Regions from separate parts of the Homo sapiens genome. Here region 2 is linked to region 1. The links are contacts of gene promoters, found by promoter capture Hi-C in human tissues and cell types (Jung and others, 2019). All regions are on one chromosome and are shown on one strand. Each heading gives the region's core, a stretch centred on a gene start or on the middle of the fragment in contact. The rest is flanking DNA. Distances are from core to core; before and after follow the strand shown. Region 1 holds the start of CAPN9 (calpain 9). Region 2 overlaps TTC13 (tetratricopeptide repeat domain 13).

What was found. The method cuts DNA at HindIII sites, captures the fragments that hold promoters and counts their contacts. A contact is called where the count stands out against the background at its distance.
Region 2: a fragment that was not itself captured here is called in contact with the fragment with the promoter of CAPN9 in region 1 in 1 of the 25 tissues and cell types used here (stomach).

The regions. Positions count from the first base shown.
Region 1 is chr1:230,743,986-230,750,621 of GRCh38, forward strand. It overlaps CAPN9 (calpain 9), which reads left to right and starts at 3,403. Exons shown (of 20, transcript NM_006615.3): 1 at 3,403-3,724. The coding sequence starts at 3,512. It also overlaps a transcript of AGT not described here. The HindIII fragment of the contact is 9,202 bases long and covers 1-5,163 here.
Region 2 is chr1:230,964,708-230,971,343 of GRCh38, forward strand. All of the region lies in intron 1 of TTC13 (tetratricopeptide repeat domain 13), which reads right to left. Among named protein-coding and RNA genes, the nearest start is that of TTC13, 11 kb to the right of the region's middle. The HindIII fragment of the contact is 3,259 bases long and covers 2,360-5,618 here.

The DNA of each region.
Region 1 (6,636 bases), core at 2,153-4,652:
CAGATTGCTCTGCTAAAGAGAAGAAAATACACTTAACATGATGCATGGCCCCCGCTTGGCTCAAAGCTGATTGCATCTCTAGGCTAGCGACAAGCTGGCAGAGCTTATTAAAAACAGTGCACATGATTCTCTGCCCAAGCTCAGAGCCCTTTCCCTCTGAGCCACTCAGGGCATTTCCCAGTGTGGGTGAGGAAGTGTGCAAGGCCTGGTAGACCTTAGATTGCATGGCTGCAGTTTCTGTAACTATTGTTCATCCTGAGAAGTGAAGGTTTGGAAAACTAAATGAAGACACCCAAGAATGCCATCTGCTTTCTTGAGGCATTGGTTCAATGTTTACTCAGCAAATGTGCATCGTGCTCCTGCCCTGCACTGGGCTGAGCTGGGAGCAGGATTAGACGCTAAGACAAAGTCATGGAGAAGTCCGGTGCCATGAGCTCTGCAGGAAAGATGGACCCAGGGCTCTGTGGGCAGACATTGGGCAGGAAGAATGATGAGGCTGTAAATCCTGAGAATGCACTCCCTCCCGCAGACATTCTCAGAGTCCCAGAGTGTTAGGGGGCAGGAGGAATTCCAGCTGTGGTTCTGGAGGATTGTTAAACCTTTTTGGTGTGTTTCCTACTCTGAGGCATGTTTGTTTTACTCACAATGATGATGCAATTCTCCAATTACCTAGCAACTATACTAAGACTCTAAAGAAAAAGGCAGGTTCTTCCAATACATAGATAAGTCCCAGGTGGAAGGACAAGACCCCAGCCTGGAGAGGTGTTTGTATCGGGAGGAGAATGAGAACGTAAATCCCTGAAGCTGGGAGTGGGTCTGGTGCTGAGCAAACCCTTTACAGTTCTGGTCAGTGCTGAAATTTACTTCAAGGTCCTTTCTCAGTTGCTGGGGCATTTGAAGGGGATGCTCCCAGAGATCTGGGCTGGTAATCATTTCCCTGCCGAGGTGTCACCAGAAATGGATGGCCCTCACATTGCCACACCTGTCTCCCTAGGTTGCCCTCCTTAATCACTTCGAAACAGAGCCGTCTGCCAGGGCAGTGGGCAATGGGACACTCCTGGGCAGCTCCATCATCTCTAGCCAAGAATCATTTGGACTGGCCAGAACTGCACTCTGGTCCCAGCCAGAGGACCCCAGTTCCAAAGTCCTTCATTGTGCAAACAAAGAGACAAAAGAGATGCCTTGCAAGTTGAGGCAAGTCAGGCTCAGAAGGAGACCATGAAATTCAGCAGCATCTGTGGGAGTGGCAGGGGGTGCAGAGAGGATAGGGGAAAGGGAGGAATCAGCAGCTCCTGATCCCCTCCATGTGCCAGACTTTGCAAGTGGCTTTGCTTCCACAAACCCGCCATGCCTCTAGCAGGCAGCACCGATTATCCTGATTCACAGCTTGGAAGCAGGGACAGACAGCATGGATAACTCGCCCAAGATCACCCCAGGGAAAACTGGGAATTTGTCTTAGTTCATTCAGGCTTCTATAACAAAACAGCACAGACAGGGTGGCTTATAAACAACAGAAATGTGTTGCTCACAGTTCTGGAAGCTGGAAGTCCAAGATCAAGGCACTGGCAGATTCCATGCCTGGTGAGGGTCTACTTTCTGGTTCCTGTGTCCTCACATGGTGGAAGGGAGGAGGGGGCCCTCTGTGACCTAATCTTTCATAATGACACCAATCCCATTCATGAGGGCTCCACTCTTCTGACCTAATCACCCCTTAGAGGCCCCACTTTCTAATACCATTACCTTGCAGGGTATGGGTTCAACATACAAATTTTGGCGGGGTCGGGGGGGTGGTGCGGAATACAAGCAATCAGGCCATAGCAGAGTAAAACCCAAATATCCCCAACTCTAATGTCTAGACCTCCCCTGTAAAACCATATGCAGGATCTACTAGACAGAACGTGTGTCAGACTGAGTGCACACTCCTGGGAACTGTGAGCTTATATAAAAATTCACATCATGGCCTTTTAACTGTACCCATTAACTCAAGACCCCTTGTCTCCAAACCTCAACTTTGACTAGTTAGAGAATCACACAGAAATCATTATAAAGTGCTTAGAACATCAGAGTTTTCACGTGGTGACTAATACTTTTATTGACTTATTTTTATTGATACATAATATTTGTACGTATTGATGGGGTACATGTGCTATTTTGTTACATGTGCAGAATGTGTGATATCGAGTTGGGGTATTTAGGCTATCTATCCCCTCCAGTATTTATCATTTCTTTTCTTCTTTCCTTCTCTCTCTCTCTTTTCTTTCTCTCTCTCTCTCTTTTTTCTTTTTTTTTTTTTTTTTTTTTTGACAGAGTCTCTCTCTGTCACCCAGGCTAGAGGGCAGTGGCACGACCTCAGTTCACTGCAACCTCCACCTCCCAGGTTCAAGGGATTCTCCTGCCTCAGCCTCCCAAGTAGCTGGGATTACAAGCATCCGCCACCACACCGGGCTAATTTTTTGTATTTTTAGTAGAGACAGGGTTTCATGATGTTGGCCAGACTGGTCTTGATCTCCTGACCTCGGGTGATCAACCCTCCTCGGCCTCCCAAAGTGCTGGGATTACAGGTGTGAGCCACCACACCCAGCCTGTATAATCATTTCTATGGGCAAACACATTTATCAAACCACCTCCATCCTCTAACATTTGTTTTTTCTCAGACGTGAGATCCTATTTGTAGGACTATAACAACAAGGAACTTTATTAATATGATGTCTAGAGAATGAAAGAGGCACATGTGCCCTAGAGGAAGAGCCGATGTCCTCTGTGAGTTCTCCTCTATCAGGGGTCAGGTTGGATGAAATCTAACCCCCACCTGCCTTTGTAAATAAAGTTTTATTGGAACACAGCCACACCCATTCATCTGTGTCACATCTACGGCTGCTTTGTCACTACAACAGCAAAGTTGAGTAGTTGCAGCACAGACTTTGCGTGGCCCACAAAGCTGAAAATATTCATGGTCTGGGCCTTTACAGAAAAGGTTTGCTGACCCCAGTGCTGAATCACTATGGGATTGCCTGTGCAGGAGCTGTGCCAGCTGTGTTCACATAATGCATCCTGCTTTCATTCACCAACCTCCCTTCCGACTACAAAACTCTGCCATTCTCTGATGCAGGAGATGGGACTCAAGACCACACCGTGCACTTCTCCGTAAAGCCACCTCCTGGACCAGTTGGGTTTCTTGCTCCTTTTCCTTCTGAAGCAATCCTCTCTCTCCCATGAGGCCCCCTGAGCGCACTAAGCAGAGGTGCCGCCTCTGAGTGGAATGTGCCAGGCCCCAGAGCTGCCTCTGAGTCTGCAGGAGTGCAGAGTGGGCAGAGGGCTCTCTCTGCTGTTTTCCATCAGGGCGTGTCCCATCTCAGTCTAACAGGGAGGTGCCCAGAAAATAGGTGGAGGTGAGGGCCACTCAGCCCAGTGGCCCTCTGAGCTGTTCCTTCTTGACCGGCACACACAGCTCGCTTCTTCACTTTCTTTTCCATCCACTGCCGGACCCAAGCCAGCCTTCCAGGGAGCAGCCATGCCTTACCTCTACCGGGCCCCAGGGCCTCAGGCACACCCGGTTCCCAAGGACGCCCGGATCACCCACTCCTCAGGCCAGAGCTTTGAGCAAATGAGGCAGGAGTGCCTGCAGAGAGGCACCCTGTTTGAGGATGCAGACTTCCCAGCCAGCAATTCCTCCCTGTTCTACAGTGAGAGGCCGCAGATCCCCTTTGTGTGGAAACGACCAGGGGTGAGTGGGGCGAGCAGGGGAAGGAGCATAGATGAGGCCGAGGTTCAGCAGCCCCCGCAGGAAGTGGAAACAGGGGTGCTGGGGAGGGGCCGGCTACGCTCAGTGCAACTGAGGTGCATCATCCCAGTCTACCGTGGAAAGCTTTGCAGTTTGGAGGCAGAAAATAATGTACAGGCCTGGGATGCTCTGCGGTGGGGACCCGGGGCATCTGGTTGTACCCGCTCCCCGGCTCCAAGCTGTCTGACTCCCACCGAGGCTGAGGACCTGGAGTCAGAGTGGGTCTTGTCAGCAGGTGATAGGCACGAATCAAAACCTTATCCACAAGGACAGGCCCCCACCCTGTGTGTGGTAACACTGAGATCACGTTATGCACAGTGTTCTGTGGCTTCTGGCCCAGAGCTGAGGGTGCTCAGTGTGGATGGATGTTTGGCTCAGCAAGGTCTCAGCAACCGGGTGACAGATGGAATACAAGGGAAGCAGGAATCTTCTCCCGAGAACCATGCACCCCCCATTCCCAGAGATCAGGGTGAACAGTGCCCCACCTCTGACAGTCTGGAGGTGTCGTCCCAAGAGGCACCAGCTGGTCACTGGGTCCCAAGAGGTGCTAGCTTGTGCCTGGGACGCCATGTCAATATTTGCGGTGCTGGATTAGTCAGGGCTCTACCTCTGACCCGGCGCCAGCTGGGCTGGCTTCCATTCCCTCCAGGTGGGTACGGGCCTGGGAGTGGCTCCTGTGGGGTCCGGTTGCTTTTGGGCAAGGAGGGGCAGTACAAGGGATGCTGGTCCTACAAGTGAGATCCTGAGTGCCTGTCTTATCCTGACAATTTGTCTCATGCATATAGTCATATCACTTCATTTCCCTGAGCCTCAGTCTCCTCACCTGTAAAATGGGAACAATAATGGCTAATGCAGGCCAATGTCTAGCACACAGAAGGTTTCCAGTACATTACAGCTATTGTCACATTATTACTATTACTGATACTATTATTATCATCATTACAATGATTATTAGCTCTGAGTCTCATCTTACATATGAGTAGCAAAGGACTCATCATAACTACCTCCTCACTATCTCCCAACATTAAAATAATGTTGATGATTAAAAACAATTTTTTTTAACGCACATTCACAAAACTTCTGGGCTCTTCAGGGGCAGGGCCAAAGTGAACCTAAGTGGGTGTTTCCGAAGTGGTAAGGGTTTTATTGCTATTTCCTGCAGTAGGCAGTGTGGGGTGTATGTGTGTGCACGCACTTGTGTGTGTAGGAATTTGACTGTGTATGTGCATGTGTGTGACTGTGTGCACATGTGTGTGGATATGCATAGGCGTGTATGTGGGGGGTGGGTGACTGCATGCATAGGCACACAGGTGCTTTGATCTTCACCTGCCAGGTAATTGATCCCACAAGGTGCCATGTTCATGGGGAAATCACAGTGAGCATTCAGTGGCCCTATCGGAGTTGGGGTGAAAGCTCCCAGGCACCTTCCTCACCGAAGCCACGCTGTGATTGTTTTTGGTTCTCTGCATATGGCCAATTGCAGTGTGAGGTCACGGCACTGGCAGATCACGTGGGGTTGCACTTTACAGACAGGATTAGTAGGTCATGCTCTGCTAAGTAAGAAAAAGGACATTTCCAAACTAAAAAAGCAGAAGTTACAAGACATAAAAGAGTGACCCTCTGAGGGGCACCGCCCACGACCATTAGGTCTCCCTGGGCTTATTTCCGGCCTCGGCGCATGAACAAATGGGCGCGTGGGCAGCTGCCCAGGCTGCAGGCTGTGGGTGCATTTTTAACTGTGGGCAGAGATTTCCCTGCAGTTGATGTCAGGAGCCCTGGGAAATAGAGTTAGAGAAATTGATTTCCTGGGCCCCTGGTGAGCAGAGCCCCTGGCCAGAAGCAGCGGCTCTTTCTGTTTGATCCAGGGTTTCATACAGATGCTCATGTTCTCTACAGGCACTTGATATGAAAAGGTTGGAAGCACTTTTTCTCTTCCTTAAAATGGGGACAATAATGCAACTTATGGGGTCCTCATGAGGGTCAGCTGCGTTACCATGAGTAGAGCACTTAGCAAAGAGCCTGGTGTGTAAAGAATCAGTGCTGGTCCTTGTTATTTCTACTGCTGTCATTGTAACCTAACACCATCGTCTCCTGACTCTAGGAGGGCCCCCATCCTTGCAGTCTATATTGACATCATCTAGTTTAAAGTGTAATCTGTACTCTACAACTCACTTACTTTTTGTCAAAGTTAGAATTCTCCAAGATAAAAGCTGGACGCACAAACCAGCATGGAGGGCATCTTTGTCTCCCCCTTCAGAAGTCTCCCCTCCTGGGACCAGGGCCACCAAGGCCTGCCCAGCGACTCTAGAGTCCCAGATCTCTGCTCCAAGGGGCTGTCTTCCTTAGTATTATCTCCTCTGGCATTGCCCCAAACGCTGGGTGAGGCCTTCATCCACAGGCCAGGGCCCTTGATACACACAAGCCCCTGCCAAGATGCACCCCGACCTGCCACCCAGCCCATGCCCCTGTACCAGCCCTCTGTCCCTTCTTCATCCCACTGTCTCCACCTACGGCAGACCCTTTATTGATCTTAACCCAGGTCTACTGTGTTGCTGTCGTTCCCACAGACTCATTTTCAGAATCTGTTCTGCCTTTTCCTTTGTCTGCAACTGAAGATTGTCCCTTTGGTCTGGTCCTCATTCTCGTACCCCTATCTGTTTCTTATTTAGGGGAGTTAGAAGCTTTACATCATATCTTACAGATTTCTGTAAAATCAGGAACAAAAGGGCTGAGGATGAGCATGGAGACTCTTCTTGCAGCATAGAGTCGCAGGGAGCCGGGGGGTAGCGGGCCATAGGGAAATCACAAGCATTGCCAGGTTCCCTGCAGACCTCTGTGGCTTGGGCATCATTTGC
Region 2 (6,636 bases), core at 2,739-5,238, 220 kb after region 1:
TAAAGGAAATCTTTAAGATTATTTAAATCCAGCTATAGTAACCAAAACAGCATGGTACTGGCATAAAAACAGACACACAGACTAATGGAACAAAATAGAGAACCCAGAAACAAATCTACACGCCTACAGTGAACTCATTTTTGACAAAGGTGCCAAGAATACACACTGGGGAAGGCAGTCTTTTCAATAAATGGTGCTGGGAAAACTGAATATCCATATGCAAAAGAATGAAACTAGACTCCTATCCCTCACCATATACAAAATGAAATCTAAATGGATTAAAGACTTAAATCCAAGAACTCAAACTATGAAACTACTACAAGAAAACGTTGGGGAAGCTCTCCATGATATTCATCTGGGCAAAGATCTCTTGAGTAACACCCACAAACACAGGCAACCAAAGCAAACAAGGACAAATGGGATCATGTCAAGTTGAAAAGCTTCCCCACAGCAAAAGATACAAGCAACAAAGTGAAGAGACAACCCACAGAATCAGATAAAATATTTGCAAACTACCCCTCTGACAAGCGATTAGTAACCAGAATATATAAGGAGCACAAACAACTGTATTGGAAAAAATCTAATAATCCAACCAAAAAATGGGGAAAGATTTGAATAGACATTTCTTAAGACATACAAAAGGCCAACAGGCATATGAAAAGGTGGTCAACATCATTGATCATCAAAAAGTGCAAATCAAAACTACAATGAGATATCATCTCACCCCAGTTAAAATGGTGTATATGCAAAAGACAGATAATAACAAATGCTGGTGAGGATATGGAGAAAGGGGAACACTTGTACACTGCAGTGGGAATGTAAATTAGCAGAACCACGATAGAGAACAGTTTGGAGGTTCCTCAAAAAACTAAAAATTGAGCTACCATATGATCCAGCAATCCCACTGCTGGGTACATACCCAAAAGACAGGAAATCAGTATATGGAAGAGATATCTGCAATCCAATATTTGCTGCAGCAGTGTTTACAATAGCTCACTCTGACACCCAGACTAGAGTGCAGTGGCACGATCTCGGCTAACTGCAGCATTGACCTCAGCATCCCTAGTAGCTGGGAACACAGGCATGCACCACCACACCTGGCTAATTTTTCATTTTTATTTTTTGTGGAGACAGGGTCCCACTGTGTTGCCCAGAATGGTCTCGAACACCTGGGCTCAAGCAATCCTCTCGCCTCAACCTCCCAAAGTACTGGGATTACAGGCATGAATCACTGCACCTGACTTAAATTTTCTCCTAATTACTTAAACTTGGTAGGATTATATATCACTTTTCATTTAATATTTTTAAAATAAATTTTTAGTTTTCTATAAGAAACTTTTGTTTCCACACTTTCTAATCCCTTATAATGATCTGTTTGTTTTGATTTCAGTATCACATTGTTTCAATTATTGTAGCTTCACAATAAATAAATGTTTTTTGGTTTTTATTATTTTAAATTGATACAGAATAATTGTACATATGGGGTAGAGGGTGATATTTTGATTCACAATACATACATTTTAATATAAAACAAAGCCATTATCAATTTTATTCCAAAACTTTCTTGGCTATTTGTATAAACATTCTTTCTTCAGATAAACTTCAGTCAGTTTTTTAAGTTCCAAAACAAAAAAATCTCTCTATGATTTGTGTTAGGATGGCATTAAAATTGTAGATTAATAGGAGAAGAAATACTTCTTTATAAAATTTGATCTCTTTATTTAAATATTTTATTAAACTATGTGAAACTTCATAAATTTTATATAGGATTTACATGTGATTTTTTAAATTGGGTTGATAACCATTGATTCAATACATATTTGTTGAGCATCTACTATGTTCCCATCACTGTGTTAGCCTCTACTGAGCAAAACCAGAAATGACCCTTCTTCTACAAAGACATTATAGTTCCCTGTGGGAAAACTGATAGCAATCAAAGTACACAAAGAAACATAAACCAACAACAGTGTGAGAGCTACACATGACAGCACAGTCAGAAGATATGGCCTGGTCAGTTTCCCGAGGACGTGAATAACACCAGCTAACACATAGTTACCGTGTACAGGCAACCTTAGAATCCCCATTTCAAAGATGAGGAAAATGAGCCCGAGGAACCTGCAGTAATCATCCTGACGCTACCCTCTAGCAAAGCAGTGGAGGGAGGATCTGAACCTAGGCAGTCTGGTTCTGGAGTCTGTGCTCTTAGCCATGAATAAGTGAATGGGGACCTGAGGGAAATTATGGATTTCACCATGGGAGGCTATGGCACCGGGAGAGCAGTCAGGCAGAAATACCAGCACATGGTAAATCCTTTGTCCAACTGCCTAGTGCTGAATATTTTATCTGCCCACATTACTGAACTCTTTACAGCCCTATTAATGTCTCCATTTAGTCAGCTGGTAACTGTATTATCTGCACGTAATTTTATCAAGGTCTTTTAAAATATTTATATTAATTTAGCACCTTATTATACTAGATGAAACTTCCAAAAAGTACTCAATAACGCCACTGATTAACAGGCACCCCTGCTTATTCCTGACATTAATACTTCATTTAATAACTGAGATTTCATCAACTTTTGATGATAAAACTTTTTCACCTAACATTTATCAACATCCAGTGGAAAGCTGCTCTGTGTCAGCTATGGGTTGAGACTGATGTACTTCACCATATAAAAGAAGTATTTTCCTATTCTATTTTTTTTTTTACCAGAAACTTTAAATCAGGAGAGCTTGCTGACCTTTATCAAGCACTTTTGAAATTTATTTAAGATGTTTCTATGATTTTTCTCCTTTGGCCTATTAACAAACTAATTTAATTTTTTCAAGTTGAACCATCTGTGTACTTCTAAAACAAACTCTGATTGAGGTAGATCATTCTTTTAATTGCTTGCTAATATTTTACTTAAAATTTTTATAACTATGTATGTATCTTCTAAGGTTGCAATAGAAAAATAGTTGCTAGAGTTATAACTATAGTTGTGTGGAACAGGAGGTTAAATTTGTTCTTCGATCTTAAAATATTTAACTCACTATGGCTTTAATTACTTTACTATCATAAATGATTATATTAAAGGATAACTACTTAATATAATAAATAATTACAGCCCAACCAGCTGTACATAAATAGTATAAATTTCCTTGGATAGGAAAAGCATTAGTTTTCTTCCTTGCTTACGTCGTACAAGTAAAGTTAGTGCTGATTACTATAGAAACTGTGTGAAAACGCATCACAGAATTCTATCTTGTTCTTCTACATCATCTCTGGACATTTCTTCACTGCTTCAGAGTTTAATGTCTTAGCAGAGATTTCTGCACAGTTGCCTCTTAAGTTCTCATGGCCTCTGGAGCTCTGCGCATGCCTCTCATTCACAACTGACACTTGCACCTGCTCCCTCTTTCTGTAGTCACCTCATCAGGCTTATCTATTTTATTCTTCTTTTTTTTATCACTTAAGAATTTGTTTTCCTATGGTGGTGGGGGGGGGGCCTTTTTGTTTTATTGTGGTTAAAAAAAAAACACACATCACATAAAAGCAATCGCCTTAGCCATTTTTAGTTTGTATGGTTCAGTAGTATTAGGTATATGCACACTGACCTCCAGAACTTCTTAATCATTCTTTTTTTAAAAAAACAACCCGGGTCTATTTCTCAATTCCACTGCTGCTTTATTTCTAATTCATTTATACCAGCTTTGCTGTATTAGGCCTTCTAATTTCCCTTATTACCTCTTCTCGCAGCTCAAGTTCAGCATCTAGTTCATTTATTCCCTTTCTTCTTAGCATTAAACTAAGAAGGCAGGATGAGTTTAAGCAGGAGGCGACATCACTAACAGGTGTCTAAGGAGAGAAGGGGCAAGTAGAGCAGGGGGCAGGTGGGAGGCCATGGCCAGTTAAAATGAGCAAAGTCTGAATGGAGGCAGCAGCCATCGGGTTGAAATAGAGGGTCACGGTCTAAAGGATACAGCAAGTAAAAAGGAGAGGGCCTTGAGGAAGAATTAGGCACAGAAAGAGGGAAAAGACACAGGTTTCCAGTTTGTGCAATGAGGGAAGAAGTGGTGCCATCAACGGAAACAAGGAGTTTAAGAGGAAGAGAGGTTTTAGAGGGAAGTCAAGAGCTAACTTTGGGCTTGAGTCAAGTGATTACGCTGGAAGCTCTCTAGCATGTAGTTAAGAAAGTCCAGAGAAAGGTAAATACTACAGATATGGATGTGATGATTTGATAATCATTAACTTATGGTGGATGATAAGCTGAGACTGTAAGTACAGTCTCTAAGAAAGCTTAGGGGGCTGGGTGCGGTGGCTCACGCCTGTAATCCCAGCACTTTGGGAGGCTGAGGTGGGCGGATCACGAGGTCAGGAGATCGAGACCACGGTGAAACCCCGTCTCTACTAAAAATACAAAAACCTAGCCGGGTGCAGTGGCAGGCGCCTGTAGTCCCAGCTATCCGAGAGGCTGAGGCAGGAGAATGGCGTGAACCTGGGAGGCGAAGCTTGCAGTGAGCCGAGATTGCGCCACTGCACTCCAGCCTGGGTGACAAAGCGACACTCCATCTCAAAAAAAGAAAAGAAAAGAAAAGAAAAAGAAAGCTTAAGAAGCTTACGTTTAATAAGAGAAGAGTTGACCTGGTGAAGATGAGTATTTAAGAGATAGTGGGAGAATCAACTTAGCAATTTATCTTTTGTTAAAAGAACTATCCATTTCTTTGAAAGGTTCTACATCTGGGCCATAAAGCTGGATACAGTTATTATAATGATTTTCATATTTATTATACTTGCTTATTCCTCAAGCCAAATACTTGTTTCTGCTCATTTTTCTTGATTAGGCTTGCTAGATAACTGTCTAATCTTAAGCAGTATTTTCAAAGAACTAGGTCTTATATTTAATTCTAGTATTTCTCTGACTTCAAACTTAATTAATTAGTTTGAAGGCAATGTAACAGTGGCTCAGGGCAGGGCTATGGAGTCAGACTAACCCAGATTAGATGCTTCCCTGACTGTTTGACTTAGAGCAAGTCCTTTAGTACGTCTTAGCCTCAGCTCCTTCATCTGCAAAATAGAAATAACCACCCCCAGATACCTTCACAGGGCTACTGTGAAGAATAAAGGGTATAAAGCCCTGTGCACAGAAAAGGATTGTTAAATGTTAGTATAGGCTTATAGGCTAAAATCGCAGTGTTTTTTTGTTAAATTTTTCTATCTGCTTTCTTTAAGCTTATCTTGGCCTTCACAGTACTTCCCAGCTTCCAAATACCTTCATAAACCTCATTTCTTTTGATTCTCCATCCTCCAAGGTAGATACAAGGCACACTGTGCCCACTGTACACATGGGGAAATAAACTCAATGTTAATGAACATGTTTAAGGTCACAAAACAAAGACATAGCACAGCCGGGTCTTGCCACAGCAATGAAGAACATGGTACATTTGTCACAACTCCTTCTGCCAATGCTGGGTCCTAGTAATGAACAGTTTAGGTATAGCAGTGTCTTGAAACTTCTTTCCTCTCCTCCTAAACCTCACACACAACTGACCTTAAGAAGAGCAGTTTCAGCACATTGACGAGGACAAAAGCTAACCATAGAAGGTCCAAGAGAGAGTGGAGTGGTGGAGGCAGTCCATATGAACATCTCCTTTGAGGAATTCTGCTGTAAAAGGAGGCAGAGGGATGGGGCAGTGGCTGGAGGGGTGTGTGGTCATCTTAGTTGCTTGTATTTTCAGGATGGTAGTTTTATTAAGACCATCTGTATGCTGACGGAAGACAAGAGGAAATGAGAGCCAGTGAACAGAGAGCTGAACTAGGCAGAGGCACCGGCCACTCATCCACCACAACAGGACAGAAGGCAAAATCTACCAGTCCATCTGCGGGCAGGCCAGTAGCTGGGGTGGTGGGGAGCAAGGAAGTTGTTTTCTCACTGCTTCTTAGTCAAATAAGATGACAGTCGTCACCTCCAAGGAAGGAGAGAAGGTGGCATTGGCAGTAGCATGTATTTCTCACACATCCATGTGTGTGAGAAAACTGACTGAAAGCTTATAAGTGGCAAACCCATGGCCAATTTATAAGGAAATCAACAGCTGCTGGGTAGCACTTATCACTCGACCACCTAGTTATAACAGACAGCACACTGAGCTACTTGAAAATAAGGATGACTGGGCTTTTCCCTTGGATGAGCTACAACTTAAAAGTAGAGTGCCAGATATTTATTGACAATCCTAACCCCAGGTATAGGGTAAACCTGCGAAGAGAAGACAGAATTCTTGTGGCTGAAAGAACTACCTGAAGGCCAGGTGGCTGTGTGGTATCAACTTGTAGTGCCTTTTGCTTTTATCAATTTCTGCACTTATAAGACAACCACAGGTGGCCAGGCGCGGTGGCTCATGCCTATAATGCCAGCACTTTGGGAGGCCGAGGCAGGCGGATCACGAGGTCAGGAGATCGAGACCATCCTGGCTAACATGGTGGAACCCTGTCTCTATTAAAAATACAAAAAAATTAGCCGGGCGTGGTGGCGGGCGCCTGTAGTCCCAGCTACTCGGGAGGCTGAGGCAGGAGAATGGCATGGACCCAGGAGGCAGAGCTTGCAGTGAGCCGAGATTGCACCACTGCACTCCAGCCTGGGCAACAGAGCAAGACTCCATC